Regions from separate parts of the Homo sapiens genome. Here all the other regions are linked to region 2. The links are contacts of gene promoters, found by promoter capture Hi-C in human tissues and cell types (Jung and others, 2019). All regions are on one chromosome and are shown on one strand. The core of a region is centred on a gene start or on the middle of the fragment in contact, and the rest is flanking DNA. Distances in the headings are between cores, read along the strand shown.

Region 1 (4,506 bases), core at 1,691-4,190, 160 kb after region 2:
ACTTATTTGGAACACAGAAAAATGAAAGTGGCTTTGCTACTTAAACTAAATTGCTGGAGGATGAAGATTTGCATTGAGTACTCTAGCTGTTAGACTTAATTAGGCTCCACAGTTTTCTAAAAGAATTGAATATAGAGTGTTCTCTCAGTTGTCTAAGAAGAATTAGCCAGCCTTGACTGTGCCAGGTTGGAAAATTTACTGGTTTATGAAGAAAAGGCATTTTACAGAAACCACGCCAAAGGGTTTTAAGCTATGCTGGCACTTTTGTTTTGTTTAAGAATTGGTAGTGTTAATGTTTGCTCTGAGGAACTTCCCTGGGCCATTAGCACCCTGTGGGCTGACATTATCCAAGGGTAGTGTTAAAAGTGAACTCATTTTGCAAAGTTGGAAGGTTTCCGGTAGAAGTATCCTTATCTTTTTTAGCACTCAGCCATTTAAAAGTAACAACCACCATCTATATCCCTCTACCTTATAAACAGCCAACAGCCTAGCCTTAATGAAGGACCTTTAGCTGTATTCAGATATAATCATCTGACACTAAATAAAATTGTGACCCAGGCTCATTAGGAATACCACAGGCCCCTCACAGTGCTGCTGTGGCCACGCTTTGCACTGATTCATGCCTCAGATTGATTTTATTATCCGAGGATATAAGGCTTGGCTTGGATGGAATCAGTGAAAGAGGCAAACACCATGGCTACAGAAAGGGGGTGATCTCCTTTCTCCTCATCATAAGGGATCACAGCTGACACCCTTGTAACAAAAGACAGGTTAACAAGAGAAAAGAATAACAAATGGATTGCATGCACATATGTGCACAGGAATCATACAAAATACGAAAACTCGAAGAAAATGCCAGAGGGTTGATACTTAAATCCCTTAAATGCCCTCTTCATTGGGGAGAGGGAAGGAGGGCAGCGAGGGCTGTAAATGAATGAGGCTGAAGACCAGTCAATGGTTTGTACATGATGCTGTTTGGGAATTGAATGGGACCTGAGAACAGAGGATGGTTTGGGATGATTAGCTAGGCTCTAGGTGTGATGTTTAATTTTCAGTCTCTTCCTCTGTGATATGAGTTTTCATCTTTCCTGGTTAATGAAATTTCAGGGAAGCGATTGAAGGCAATTGTGTCTTTAGGGGTCCAGTTTCTGGGTAGATAAGGAAACTTCAAAGAACTGTGTGATCCTGTGCTTTGGGAGAGACAGAGGATTAGGGGGGTGGCCTCCTTAGTTCAGCATGTTAAAGTGCCATATTTTGGGATATCATTTTCTGAGCTCCAACAACACCAATCTTTTTTTTTTTTTTTGAGACAGTCTTGTTCTGTCACCCAGGCTGGAGTGCAGTGATATGAGCTCGGCTTACTGCAACCTCTGCCCCCCAGGTTCAAGTGATTCTCATGCCTCAGTCTCCCAAGTAGCTGGGACTGCAGGTGCATGCCACTACACCCCGCTAATTTTTGAATTTTTGGTAAAGATGGGATTTCACCATGTTGGCTAGGCTGGTCTCGAACTCCTGACCTCAGGTGATCCCCCTGCCTCGTCCTCCCAAAGTGTTAAGATTACAGGCATGAGCCACTGTGCCTGGCCAACACCACCAATCTTACAAAAAAAAAAAAAAAAAAAAAGGCACTGTACTCCAGAAAGGGGCTTTTGAGAAGAATAACAATGATCCCCCTCAAAAAGGAGACAGGAGTAGAATTTACTGTGGATTTCGGAGTTATTATCCCCAACACTCCAGAGGCTCCTTCTTATCTTGGTCAGACTTCATGAGTTTCAAGATCCTTCTCCAGGAAAATAGAATCAACTCAGAAACTAGGAATGGAGACAAAATCCATTCCTTTGGGTGCCTATCCAGAGATTTTTGAGTTGTCTGTAAATGTGGACCTATTTACTGTGTAATGTCTTTTTCTCTACAAGCAACTATTTAGAAAACATGGCAGTGCTTCCATTGGCAAATGTAAAGCAGATCTTAAATTCTTATCTGGTCCACATCACAGCTGTGGTCTTGCTTTGCACTGATTCCTGTCTCAGGTTGATTTTATTATACTGAGGAGATAAGGCTCGGTGTGGATGGAATCAGTGAAGAAAGCAAACACCATGGAGGCAGAAAGGGGGTAATCTAGTCTATTTCAGTCTATTCCAAGTGCCCTTACACATCTCTCTAAGCCCATAACAGTTGCCTGGTGTCATCAGCTTGCCTTCAGATCCCATCCCCTCCTGTTCAATCTCTAGGTCCTTTTGCAGAACTCAGTGTTTTTGTGAGAGCAAAACTTTCAGAAAGAAGTTATTTAATCTTTGAAAGCTGTTGAAACTGGTTTATCGACTAGTCTGAACCCAGTAGAAGTTCAGTAGTTTTATTTTTCTCCACTCAGTGTATTAACTGCACTGTATTAAATCTCTCTTCTCCATAAGTAACAGGAAGGCTGGGATCTTTGTTTCATTCATTAGTGTCATTGTCACTCAAGTGCCTAAAATGGTGACTGACACATGGTGGATCCTCAAAAAAGATGTATTAAATTGAACATTTTTGGTGGAACCTCACTTGTTTTCATTAATTAAAAAGAAACTCGCCGGGCATGGTGGCTCATGCCTGTAATCCCAGCACTTTGGGAGGCCGAGGCAGGCGGATCACCTGAGGTCGGGAGTTTGAGACCAGCCTAACTAACGTGTAGAAACCCCATCTCTACTAAAATACAAAAAATTAGCCAGGCATGGTAGTGCATGTCTGTAATCCCAGCTATTCGGGAGGCTGAGGCAAGGGAATTGCTTGGACCCAGGAGGCAGTGGTTACAGTGAGCCGAGATTGCACCGTTGCACTCCAGCCTGGGCAACAAGAGCGAAACTCCGTCTCAAAAAAATAATAATAATAAAAAGGAACTCAGGGTTGTCTAGTTTAAAGCACCATTCTCATATTCTTTGTAAATCTCATCTTTTCCATTCCCTCCAGCACCTGCCTTCTTTAGTTTTAAAAGGACTTGGATGGACCTGGAGGTCATTCTGTTAAGTGAAGTAAGTCAGGGACAGAAAGACAAATATTGTATGTTCTCACTCATATGTGGGAGCTAAAAAATGTTGATCTCAAGGAGGTAGAGAGTAGAATGATGGTTACCAGAGGCAGGGAAGGGTGTGTGTAGGTGGAGGAAGGAAGAGGGGAAGAATAGGTTGGTTAATGGATACAAACATACAGTTAGGTAGAAGCAATAAATGTTAGTTTTGGGTAGCACAGTAGGGTGATGACAGTTAGCAACAATATATATTTCAAAATAGTTAGAAGATTTGAAATATTCCCAACACAAAGAAATGATAAACGTTCCTGGCGATGGATAATCTAAACACCCTGGTTTGATCATTACATATTGTATGTATGCATCAAAATATCACATGTACCCCATACATATGTACAAATATTAATGTATCAATTTCAAAATAAAAATAAAAGACTTGGATTGGGGAGGGGGTGCTTACTCTTTCCATCTTCCTCCCCTTCCCTTGCCTTGGAAAAGGGTAAAGGAATTTGATTTAGTTCTGGGACACTCTTACTCTGTTCTTCTTCTCATTCTCCTTCCCTTCCTGTATTTTAGGGTGGGGCGGAGATAGTGTCTCTCACACCACTGACCATGGCTGCCATCCTCTCTCTGGAGATGTGCCTGCTTCTGTGGTACCCCTGACTGGTGGTGGGTGCCTGCCAGGTGGGAGACATCCAAATACTGGCCTTTTCATGGTACTCAAGGGAGGTCTCCTTAGAGCCCCTTCAGGGGACTCCCTGTCCTGTGTTTCCTGGCTGTAGGAGATACAATGTCAACCCGGCTTTATCAAGCCACCCCTCAGCTCCGCTCCTGGTGGTACAGCCCACAGCCTTTCCTTCCTGAGCTCCCTTGACATGCAGGCTGCCCCCTTGAGTAGGACCCTGGCAAAGGGATGTAGACCCACTGGTGCTTGGGAAGCTCGCTCATCCTAGCCTTTGCTAGATGGTTCCTGACCCCTCTTGCCCTACCATTTCTCTCCAATTCACTTTTTGCCTGCTCAGGGTGGTTGGGGGACTCAGGGCTGATCAGCAAAGCGGCTGACCCTGCAGTCATCCAGCTGGGAAGCAGGATGCCAGGTTCTCCTTCAAGCTGGCTCCTCCAAAGTAATTCTCTTAGATAGTCACCTTTCTCTTGCTTTAGTTGAAAGAAAGGATAACAATGCTAGGGAAAGAAGAAGGGAAAGCTGTAGCTACTCTCACTAGGCAGAAGACCCGGAGCTAATTCCACCTGCTGTCTTCTTTGTCTTCTCTAGACTGAGAAGGAGGAAGGAGGGGCAAGTGGGGAGTGTGGTGTCGCAGGACTATTCTACCATCTCCCTAAGCTTTTCCGGAGGTGTCTTTTCTCAATCATTAGTACTCTGTAGACTGCAGTGCACTTGCCCATCTCTTTGACCTTAGCTTTGCTTCCTTGGTCACCAACATAGGGCAACAGAACAAGTCCTACTCAGGACTCTGCTGCACAGCTAAAGAAACAGATCTCCA
Region 2 (4,830 bases), core at 1,885-4,384:
TACTTTGTCCACGGCTACATCCCCAGTGTCCAGAGCAGTGCCAGGCACTTAGTTGAGAATCCATAAATATTTGTTGAATGAATGAAAGGAACTTGGATTTCTTCCTCTGCCTCATACTTCCATCTTCACAACATACCCAGGTCCACCTGTTCTTATCTTATCTTGGAATTGCAAATCTGGGCTCCTTTTTGCCTCCTTTCCCACTGTCGCTTTCTTAATTAGTCCCTGTCACCCTATCCAGAGCTATCATGGCCTCCTAGCTTGTCTCCTTGCCATGGCTGTCTTCTTGGACCATTCTCTGCTTCCTCTCTAAAGAACTTTCTCTCTAAAGCACAGTCTGGAGTCTCCTTCCTCTGCCTCAATCCCATGGATGTTCACTTTGTAGATGCTCATTAATGTGTGCCTGACAGCCTGGGCCTCTCTCTGGGGAGAGAGGTCCAGTGAGGGCCACAGTTTTGTCCATTTTAAAATGAGGATCAGGAAGGGATTGAAACGCAACAGAGCTCACAGATGTAGGCACCGACTAGCGGAGATATACAGAATTGGAGACAAGTGACATATCCTGTTAAAAGAATTTGGGAGTGATACTGGGAGTGTGGACTGGAATGACTGGGGCAGCATTCTAGAATGAATCATTACAACAGAGATCAACAACCACACGGGGTAGGGAGGGGCTGGAGAGAGAGAGGGAAAAAAAAGAAATTCAGTCATACTCAAGTGAGATTGGATTTCCACACTTGCCTACATTGAAAAGCTAAAAATAGGGACATTTGGGGAGAAAAATAGTGAGGAGTCTTTTAATTCTACTGACAGGACTATAAGGAGGGAGGTTTGCAGGGAAGAATGTGTCTCTCACTCTTAGGGGCAAAATTGGAAAAATTTTTATTTTGGGGGCCCCAACCTTCACTCTCCCCACTCTACCCCCTGCCTGTTCTCTCTATCTTTCCTCACCATCAAAACCTCTTTTTTAAGGAAAGAGTCTGATAACATTCATTTACATAAATCTGTAATATTTAATGTGGTGATTTTAGATGTTAGAAGCAGAAGTCTGAAATCAAAGACACTTAAATACAGCAACCATTAAAAAAAGACGTATATAATTCACTGCATCTAGCACAGGGCTAAACCCAGTGGTTGCTCCGCAAATATTTGTTGAAAGATGTTCAAAAAAGCCTTATTTATATTATCAAACTCCACAAACAATATAAATATGCAAAAATGGGGAAACCATTGCAAAATCATCCATATGAAGAAATATTACATAGCTATAAAAATATCTAGAAAAGCTTTTTAATGATCCAGAGGAATAAATGCTTATACTGATGTTAGGCAAAATCAGCAGGATTCAAATTGCTACTATAATATGTCAATTATAAAAATCATATGCACATACAGAAGACAAAATCTATGAGTATCTCTGGAATCTGTGGGATTTGGGGTTATTTTTAGTTCTTTCTACTTTTCTGTACTTTTGAATTGTTTATACTTGGAATGAGAGAAATAGCCCAAAGTAAACGTTGTGGAAGATTTACTTGGGGGAAGAAATACTTTTCAGGGGTCCAAGCTAATTACACTGTACTGGTGTGGCCCACTTGGTCTATTATAGAGGAGGAAAGTGGGGAAGAGATGGGGCCTGTCCAATAAGGATGGATGTCCTGACAGTAGAGGATGGACTTTTAAAAACTGCTACAGCGGCTGGGTGCGGTAGCTCACGGCTGTAATCCTAGCACTTTGGGAGGCTGAGGTGGGCAGATCACGAGGTCAGGAGTTCGAGACCGGCCTGACCAACATGGTGAAACACCGTCTCTACTAAAAATACAAAAATTAGCTGGGCGTGGTGGCGCGCGCCTGTAATCCCAGCTACTCAGGAGGCTGAGGCAGCAGAATCGCTTGAACCGGGAGCAGAGGTTGCAGTGAGCAGAGATGGCGCCACTGCACTGCAGCCTGGGCGACAGAGCGAGGCTCCATCTCAAAAAAACAAAACAGAAACAAAACAAAACAAAACAAAACAAAAAACCTGCTACAGGAGTGGGGAGGCCGACCTTTGAAGAAAAACGGAGTACCCGGTAACATTAGTGCTTTAATGCCTTTGAACTTATGCAGACTTCCTCTGTTAGAGGGTTTCAGTGTTCTAGGCTAATGGGTTAACCTGACATCTAGAACACCTTTCTCACATTAGTTCCTTACATACCCAAGCCTTCAGGTGCTGAGACATGATTCTTTTCACCCCGCTTTCTCCACCCCCTACTTTTGAAAACACGGGTGGAATTTTAATTAAAGCCTATTGTGTTGGTACCTCAGTAATATTATACATTAATATCTTTAAGAATTAAGGTCACGTCCCCATGTAAGAAAATATTATTTAATGACGCTTCTATATCATAATACCTATATAAAAGCCTGGCTATTTTAATAAAGAGACCACAGATTTCAGAATTTATAAACAGGAAAACATTTTCTTCGGGTTATTTCTGGAAATCTCTTCCAAACATCGGAGTTTTCTTCTAACTTAAGTCTCTTCCCACCTCCTTCCCAGGGGATCTGCTGAAGGGTGTTGTATGTCTCTCTGTGGGAGAGCAAACTTCACAGTTAGGATAAAACAAACAAACAAACAATATCCAAACAACACCCAGCAACGGCAACCCCCATCCCTCTCCAAAGTTCTAATTTCCCGCACTTAAAGTCCTGGGCTATCCTTGTGTTGCAAGGATCTTAGAATCGAAATGGAGGGATTTGACAACTTTACCTAACCAAATCTAAAATTTTGCTTTTATTATTTACTAGTTATCAAAATATGCAAACTGCTGATTAAGGAAGGCTGGGTAGCAGGAGCGCCTGCGAAGGCGTAGGGTAGAAGTGTGAAAAGAAATCCCAGCTCTCCCAGGGAGACTGCGTGTGAAAGAGCCCGGCTCCCCCAAAAGCTCCAGGCCGCGTTTTGCAGGCTTCCGCATCTGCCTCCCCTGTCTCTCTTACCTCCTTGATGTTCGGCACTATTTGTGGCCGGCGTGGTGGAAGGACACAGTGAGGTTCTCACCCCCGCCCCCCGCTCCTCGCTCCCATCCCAGTTCCATCAAAACGAACCCGGGCCAGCGCAAGGATCTCCGAGTTGCGAGTGTGCTGAGGCTGGGACTGTCACTCATTCTCCGATCAGCGCGTGAACGCAGCTCGGCTGCCGCTGGCAGGAAACAATTCTGCAAAAATAATCATACTCAGCCTGGCAATTGTCTGCCCCTAGGTCTGTCGCTCAGCCGCCGTCCACACTCGCTGCAGGGGGGGGGGCACAGAATTTACCGCGGCAAGAACATCCCTCCCAGCCAGCAGATTACAATGCTGCAAACTAAGGATCTCATCTGGACTTTGTTTTTCCTGGGAACTGCAGGTACATTTTTTTTTTTTTTAATTCTCAATCTGGTTTGCTAATTACCCCTTCCTCCTACTCCTAGGAGGAACGCTATTATTTTGGGTGGTTTTACGTGGACTGCTAAGGCTGGTCATTTTCGTTTAGCTGTGAAAGGAGCGCGTCGCCCTTGCTGCCCAGCCGAACCCCGCTCCCTCCAGGGCTGCGCTGCACGGGGCTGCCTCCCCGAGCCGCCAGCGCCCGGCGCCCCTCCGGCGCGTCCGCCCTTCCCACTTTGTGCGCCCGCGGCGGTGGGAGCAGAGCCGGCCGGCTCCTGGGGACTCAGCGGCCGCGCTGGTGATGGGCAGCGCTCCTTCCCCAAAGGCGGGCGGCGGGGCGGGGGAGGTCGCGGCTCGGGTGGTGCCGCCGCACGGGCTCGGATTCCGAGGGGGAAGTGGCTTGTCAGCCCCGGCTCCGGGAAGAGTGAACAATAAGGCTAGGGCAGCCGCCCCAGATCGTTATATTCCTGGGTCTAATAAAGTCAGGATCGCTGCTTTGCTTCCCCCGCCCCAGAAGAATAACGGTTTGCAAAATGGGGCAAAATGGGCAGAATCGCACGGCCGTTGTTGTTGGTGTGACCGTTGTTGCACCCCAGTCGACATGACGTTAGTTTTTCATTTGCCAAATTGCTGGTTAGTTGCAAAGCCTACCCTCGGCCGCGAGCACTGAAGGATGGGAGGGTCGAGCGCCGCGTTTTGACAGGAGGAAGTGCGGAGGGGCGGAGGGCGAGGAGGGCGTGATTGGGGCTGCCTGGTGTGTGCGCGCGCGTGTGCGCGCGTGTGTCTTTACACGCGCCGCGTGCCCAGTGTTGCACGGGGCGGGAGAAGAATGGCAGGTAGCCGCCCGAAACACCTCGCCCTGTCTCCTTTCTTTGGGCGAGGTTCCCGATCCTGGCAAAGTGTGAACAATAGGGAGCTGGGAGGAAGACAGTAGTGATGCTGCCGCGGGTGGCGGGGGTTGCGCCGCCGCCCAGAGAACCTCGGCAGTGTGCAGGGAGGTGCATTTCATTTTGGCTATTTCCATCCCGGCCTCCCTGGAAAATTCTTCTGTGCGTGCCCACCCTCCCCTCCAGCTGTCATCCCCCCACCTCCACCCAAGGATTTGCGCTTTGGCTCTGATGGACGGGAGGGAAGGAAGAAAAGCAGGGGCCGCAGAGAGCTGGGTGGGTTGGGCGGACATTCTGGGCGGGGGGCGTGTGCTGGGAAGCGATCGAGGAAAGCCGGGCGGAGGGGCTGTGTGTCGCGGTCGCAGCTCCAGGTACCGTTGTACCTGCCCTGGACGGCCGACCCCCGGTTGGGGAGCGCACGGGGCGGGCCAGGGAGCACCCAGTGCGCCCCCTCCGCGGGCGGCACAAGAGCAGCGCTCGGCCGCCGCCTCCAGCCAACTCGGGTCCCTCCCACGGCGACCAATCAGTGCGAAGCTGGCTGGGCGGG
Region 3 (4,573 bases), core at 1,401-3,900, 130 kb after region 2:
GGGTTCCTCTAGGAGCACCCTAGCTCCCAGATGGAGGCCGTAAGGTCAAGCAGCCAGCATGGAGCAGGACATTTGATGGAAAATGGGTCACACAATCTACATGGCTTTTCTTTCTGGCATCTGGTTTAGTATAGACAAGGCCCACTCAAGGAAAGCTTGTTTCAAAGAAAAACGCTCAAGTAGGCGTTCAGAGAAGCTTTGCTGTTGCATTGCACCAATTGGAATGGGAGACTTTTTTTTTCATTTTATTCTCAAACGTAGTTCACATCCTGGTCTTCCTCCTTCCTCCGGCCCCACAACTCTCATTCAGCTGTGTTGTGAAGGTTCCACAACCCCTTTAAGGTTTATGGTCTTATGAAGCACAGCTGGATAGAGGTTCTTTATTCTTAAGCCTTTGGAAGGCTTCCCTTTGAAAGTTTACGAACGCCCCATCTCTTTTCTCTAGGTAGGAACATTAGGAGCAGATTTAGTGGAAGTGAGGCATGCTCAGTATCTACCAACACAATCAGGTACATGGAAGTCATTCCATTTCTGACTGCAGGGATTGTTTCCCATTCTTTTACTTAAAAGCAAGTAAGCAGATGGATTGGAGCAAATAACAATAGTCAAGGTCCTCTGCAGACTGGTGGAAGCACTCAGGAATGGCCTCCCATCCCTGTGGGCCATGAAGTCATTACATTCTCCTGATGTTCTGCCTTCGCTCTGTGGTCTTCCAGACCAGTTGGAAGCTGCAGTGTGCTGTGCTTCTCTGCAGGAGCTCCCCTTCAACTCCCACCCCTGAACAAACACACCTGCAAGCTGCTTTAGTGGCTGTTCCATCTGTGGCTTTAAGGATAGATAAAACAATCAATAGCAGATAAGTGGTATCATGCTGCTTCAAATACAGAGGGAAACATAGGGTCCCCTTTAGACAGTTAAGACGGCAGCTGCAAAAATGAACAGCAATGACTTGGGGGAGGGACCAATCTGACATCTGTTGACCATTTGGCCAGTAGGTAGTGGTGAACCAAAGAGGTAACTTAAACAAGTTCAGAATCCAAGAAAAAAAGGTTGAATTGATTTGGATATCAGAATAGGGGAAAACATTCTATCGTTTGGCACCATTTTGATCAGAGTTAGACGATAGACATCAGGCTGATTTGTCAGAATCACTGTAGAGATGATGGGTTTTGTGTTTTTGAATAGGCAGCTTTGGGGTGCTTTGTACACCTTCACATAGCTGGCCATTTCACCTTCAGAGATTGAACTACATTGTTCCCTTAGTCTTCCTCATTGTCATAGAACAGAGAAGTTTTTCATTTGCTGTGCTTGTGAAACCTTAAGGCTTTTCCATTGCTCTTCCACCCTCAATCCTGCATTTCTCACTCCTCCTCTGGCAAAAGGCTTATTGAGGCCCATGTCTGGGTGTCATTCCATGTTTCACAAGCACTTAGGGCTTGTAATTCGCTGCTGTGGCCCCACACTCTTGTTAACTGCCCCCTGTCTGGGGTCTATTTTTCAGGCCAAGGCTCTACCAGTCCATGCTAATGAGCCAGCGGCAGATAGGTCAGCAAGGGCATCTGGGCTATCTGAATTGGAATTAAGGGAGAACAGATTTGTTGTTGTTGTTGACTGTCAAACAACTCTGTTAGCTGTGGCCTAAGTCTTTTCTAAGTCACATTGACAAGAACGAAAAATGTCGAAAGGAAAATCTTTAATATTAAATCATATTTATTTCATATGCAAACAGCCATAGGTGTATTTTTATATGAGGGCTTTTATAAATAGGGAAAATAGTATCGGGTTTTGAATGATTAATTATTTTATATTTCTCTTATTCAAGCTTCTAGACCGCTTACAGAAAATGAGACCTTCGAGTTCTTGCAGTTAAGATTTCCTCATAACCTTGAGCACTGAAAGAAACTAAATCTTGATATTTCATGGAGTTTTTATCAAAACTCAATAATTTTGTAAAGAGAATATGATTGAAGAGCGGCAGTATAGCTGATCCATCATAAATTAACATTAACTAAGTACTCATGAGGGATTTGTGCTGTGTCTTTAATTCCTTCCAAAACAAATGACGACATTCTCAGCTTTGCATTGTCCTCTGATATAGCACTGACCTTGCTGTAATAGAATGCGTGTGTGTGTGTGTGTATATGTATGTGCTTATCTAACTCATAGACTGAGCATCTAAGATGAGTTTACCCAGCTTTCAGCACAGTGGTCGATAATCAGTGGTTAATCAGTGCTGAGCAAATGAATAGCTACACAGTCCAGCAATTGCTTGGATGTGGTTCTTTTAACGCAGGCAGCCCATATTCAGGCCAACTCTGTGAAAAGGCACTGGCTCCTCCCAGGGGTCCTGAAACATACTAGGGAAGCCATGGGGGGACCACACCGAGCTAAGACTCGCCAAATCCCTTCTCCAGAAACTGGAAACCATTCAATTAATAGCAATAGCTGACGTTTTCTGAGTTCTCATTTCATTTTATCCTTACAACAATCTTACAAGGCAGATTTTATTAATCCCATTTTACAGATGAAGAAACTGGGTCTTAAGGAGGCTAAATTTAAGTTGGGAGCCAGTTGGATTAGCCTTGTGCTTTAGCCCCAGACATTCTGGGTTCACAGCCTGTGCCTCACCTCCTACCGACTGTGTGACCTTGAGCAAATTCCTGTCATCTGCCAGTGCCTCAGTTTCTGTTTCTGTAGAATGAATAATAATAGCTGTTTTTAAAAATCTGCTGCAAGGATTAAATAAAATGACGTAAATGGAATATCTAGTATAATGTCTGAGACAGGGTAAACATTTAGTGTTTTTATTATAATTAATTATTGCTATTAGGCCCACAGGAATTCAGACACAGACCTGTCAGGCTCTGAAGGAGGTCTGTAAGCAAGACTTGGCAAGGTCAGGTCTGACTTCAGGAAGTGCACTGGGGTCACAGAGCAAAGGATGGCCTGGCTTGGGATAGCTATTGACTGTGAGAGAAGTGGGCACTTACCTAACAACTCCAGGCTGAGCTGGGTCTCCAGCAGTGGGATACCAAGTGGGGGTGGTGGAGTTGAACTTGAGATACCTTTCTGAAATAGAATTGACAAAATGTGTTATCAGTTAAAAATAGGGAATGAGAGACAGAGAAAAATTAATGACAAGGGAGCCTGAGGAAGGGAGGAGCTACCTTTAAGAAGCAGAATAAAGGAGAGAGAATTGTCAGGGTGAACGTGAGAGATGTTAATGTGTTGTTAATGTGTTTTGTATGGTAAAGGTATACACAGGGTTGTGTGTTACGTTCAGGTTAATGCGGACAGTGGGTTTGAAATGCCAACTGCAGCCCAGCTCCGAGGTCAGGGAATGCTTCTCGATGGAAATTGAACCCTGAGTATGTTTTCTAAGCACTCTGTTCATCACTTTCCTTCTCTGTAAAAATGTGGCTATTGGACAAGATCAGGTCCCTTCTAACTCTATGCTTTTTCTGGATTTTTTAACCTTTTGTTAATTATTTCAATGCAGTGGATCCCTTTTTAACTGGCATCACTGATGACAAACCCCTGAGCCTGGGGTTCAGAGCCCTCATCCCACGACTACATCTTACTTTTCATTCTCCTATCTTGTTGCCTCAGCCATCCTAATGTAGCTAACAGAGTGACTCACCATCCCCCAGATACACCCTCATGCTTTTTTTCCAGGTTCTGCTCACAATGCTGCCTCTACCTGGAGTGTCTTCCAGCTGTCTCTCCCCTGACAAGTTTGTTACACAGCAGGCACTACTCCCTGCAAGCTCCCTTCCATGCCAGACCCTGATTACCATTTGTTGAACCCCCCCTGCCCTGTGCCAATCCCATGCTTTACAAGTATCCTATCTAATGCCCTAATGGAAAGTCTTGCAAGACGGCAGACTTCTTATCTCCATTTTATGTGGGACCAAACTGAGTCTGACATGTTAAAAAGCTTGCTGAAGCCTCAGAGTTGAGATTCCATCTTGGCTCACTCTGATTCCAAATTCCAAGCCCTTTCTACTTCTTCAAGCTGCAGGCCTTGGGCCACTTGGTAAATCTTTCTTATGGCTTTTATCTAATGTTGACTTCTGCTTTAGTGGATTCAGCATAGTTTTATTGAGCATCTTCTGTATGCCAGACACCTGCACAAATGATAACTCATTTAAGGGTAGGTTTTATGTCTTACTTCTTATATTTTTCCAAGACTTAACAGAAAGATGGTACCAAGGTAGAAATTGAGTAAGTTTGTTGAGTTCAACTGAAATGAGTAGAGTCGCTCATCTAACATAGAGAGCTATCATCAAATTAGGAGTCAACAAACATACCCTCCCGTTAGCTGAATGATCTGGTTACCTGTAGGATGACTGCCAGCTTCATTGGGAACTCTGTTAAATAGATCAGTTGAAATTTATAAGAGGTGACTTGGGCTTTTTTTTTTTTTTTTTTAACTCTTTGTTCTTAAGGTTAGTAGCTGTTTTTTAGAACATACTTTAGATAATTGTTAGTGAAAGCAATTAAATGGTTCCTTAAAGGACAAGATGAATTTATGTCAAAATAAATTGACTTATCATTAATGGACATGTATTTT

Evidence for each region. Contacts are between HindIII fragments. The study calls those that stand out against the background at their distance.
Region 1: a contact is called between a fragment that was not itself captured here and the fragment with the promoter of NCAM1 in region 2, in 1 of the 25 tissues and cell types used here (dorsolateral prefrontal cortex).
Region 3: a fragment that was not itself captured here is called in contact with the fragment with the promoter of NCAM1 in region 2 in 1 of the 25 tissues and cell types used here (dorsolateral prefrontal cortex).

The regions. Positions count from the first base shown.
Region 1 is chr11:113,119,935-113,124,440 of GRCh38, forward strand. The region is part of intron 1 of NCAM1 (neural cell adhesion molecule 1); the gene reads left to right. Among named protein-coding and RNA genes, the nearest start is that of NCAM1-AS1, 150 kb to the right of the region's middle. The HindIII fragment of the contact is 5,670 bases long and covers 106-4,506 here.
Region 2 is chr11:112,958,286-112,963,115 of GRCh38, forward strand. NCAM1 (neural cell adhesion molecule 1) reads left to right here and starts at 3,135. Exons shown (of 20, transcript NM_181351.5): 1 at 3,135-3,379. The coding sequence starts at 3,328. It overlaps NCAM1-AS2 (NCAM1 antisense RNA 2), which reads right to left. Exons shown (of 3, transcript NR_120563.1): 2 at 3,082-3,191; 3 at 994-2,566. RefSeq lists an enhancer at 3,078-3,855. The HindIII fragment of the contact is 9,849 bases long and covers 390-4,830 here.
Region 3 is chr11:113,093,193-113,097,765 of GRCh38, forward strand. The region is part of intron 1 of NCAM1 (neural cell adhesion molecule 1); the gene reads left to right. Among named protein-coding and RNA genes, the nearest start is that of NCAM1-AS2, 130 kb to the left of the region's middle. The HindIII fragment of the contact is 3,283 bases long and covers 1,010-4,292 here.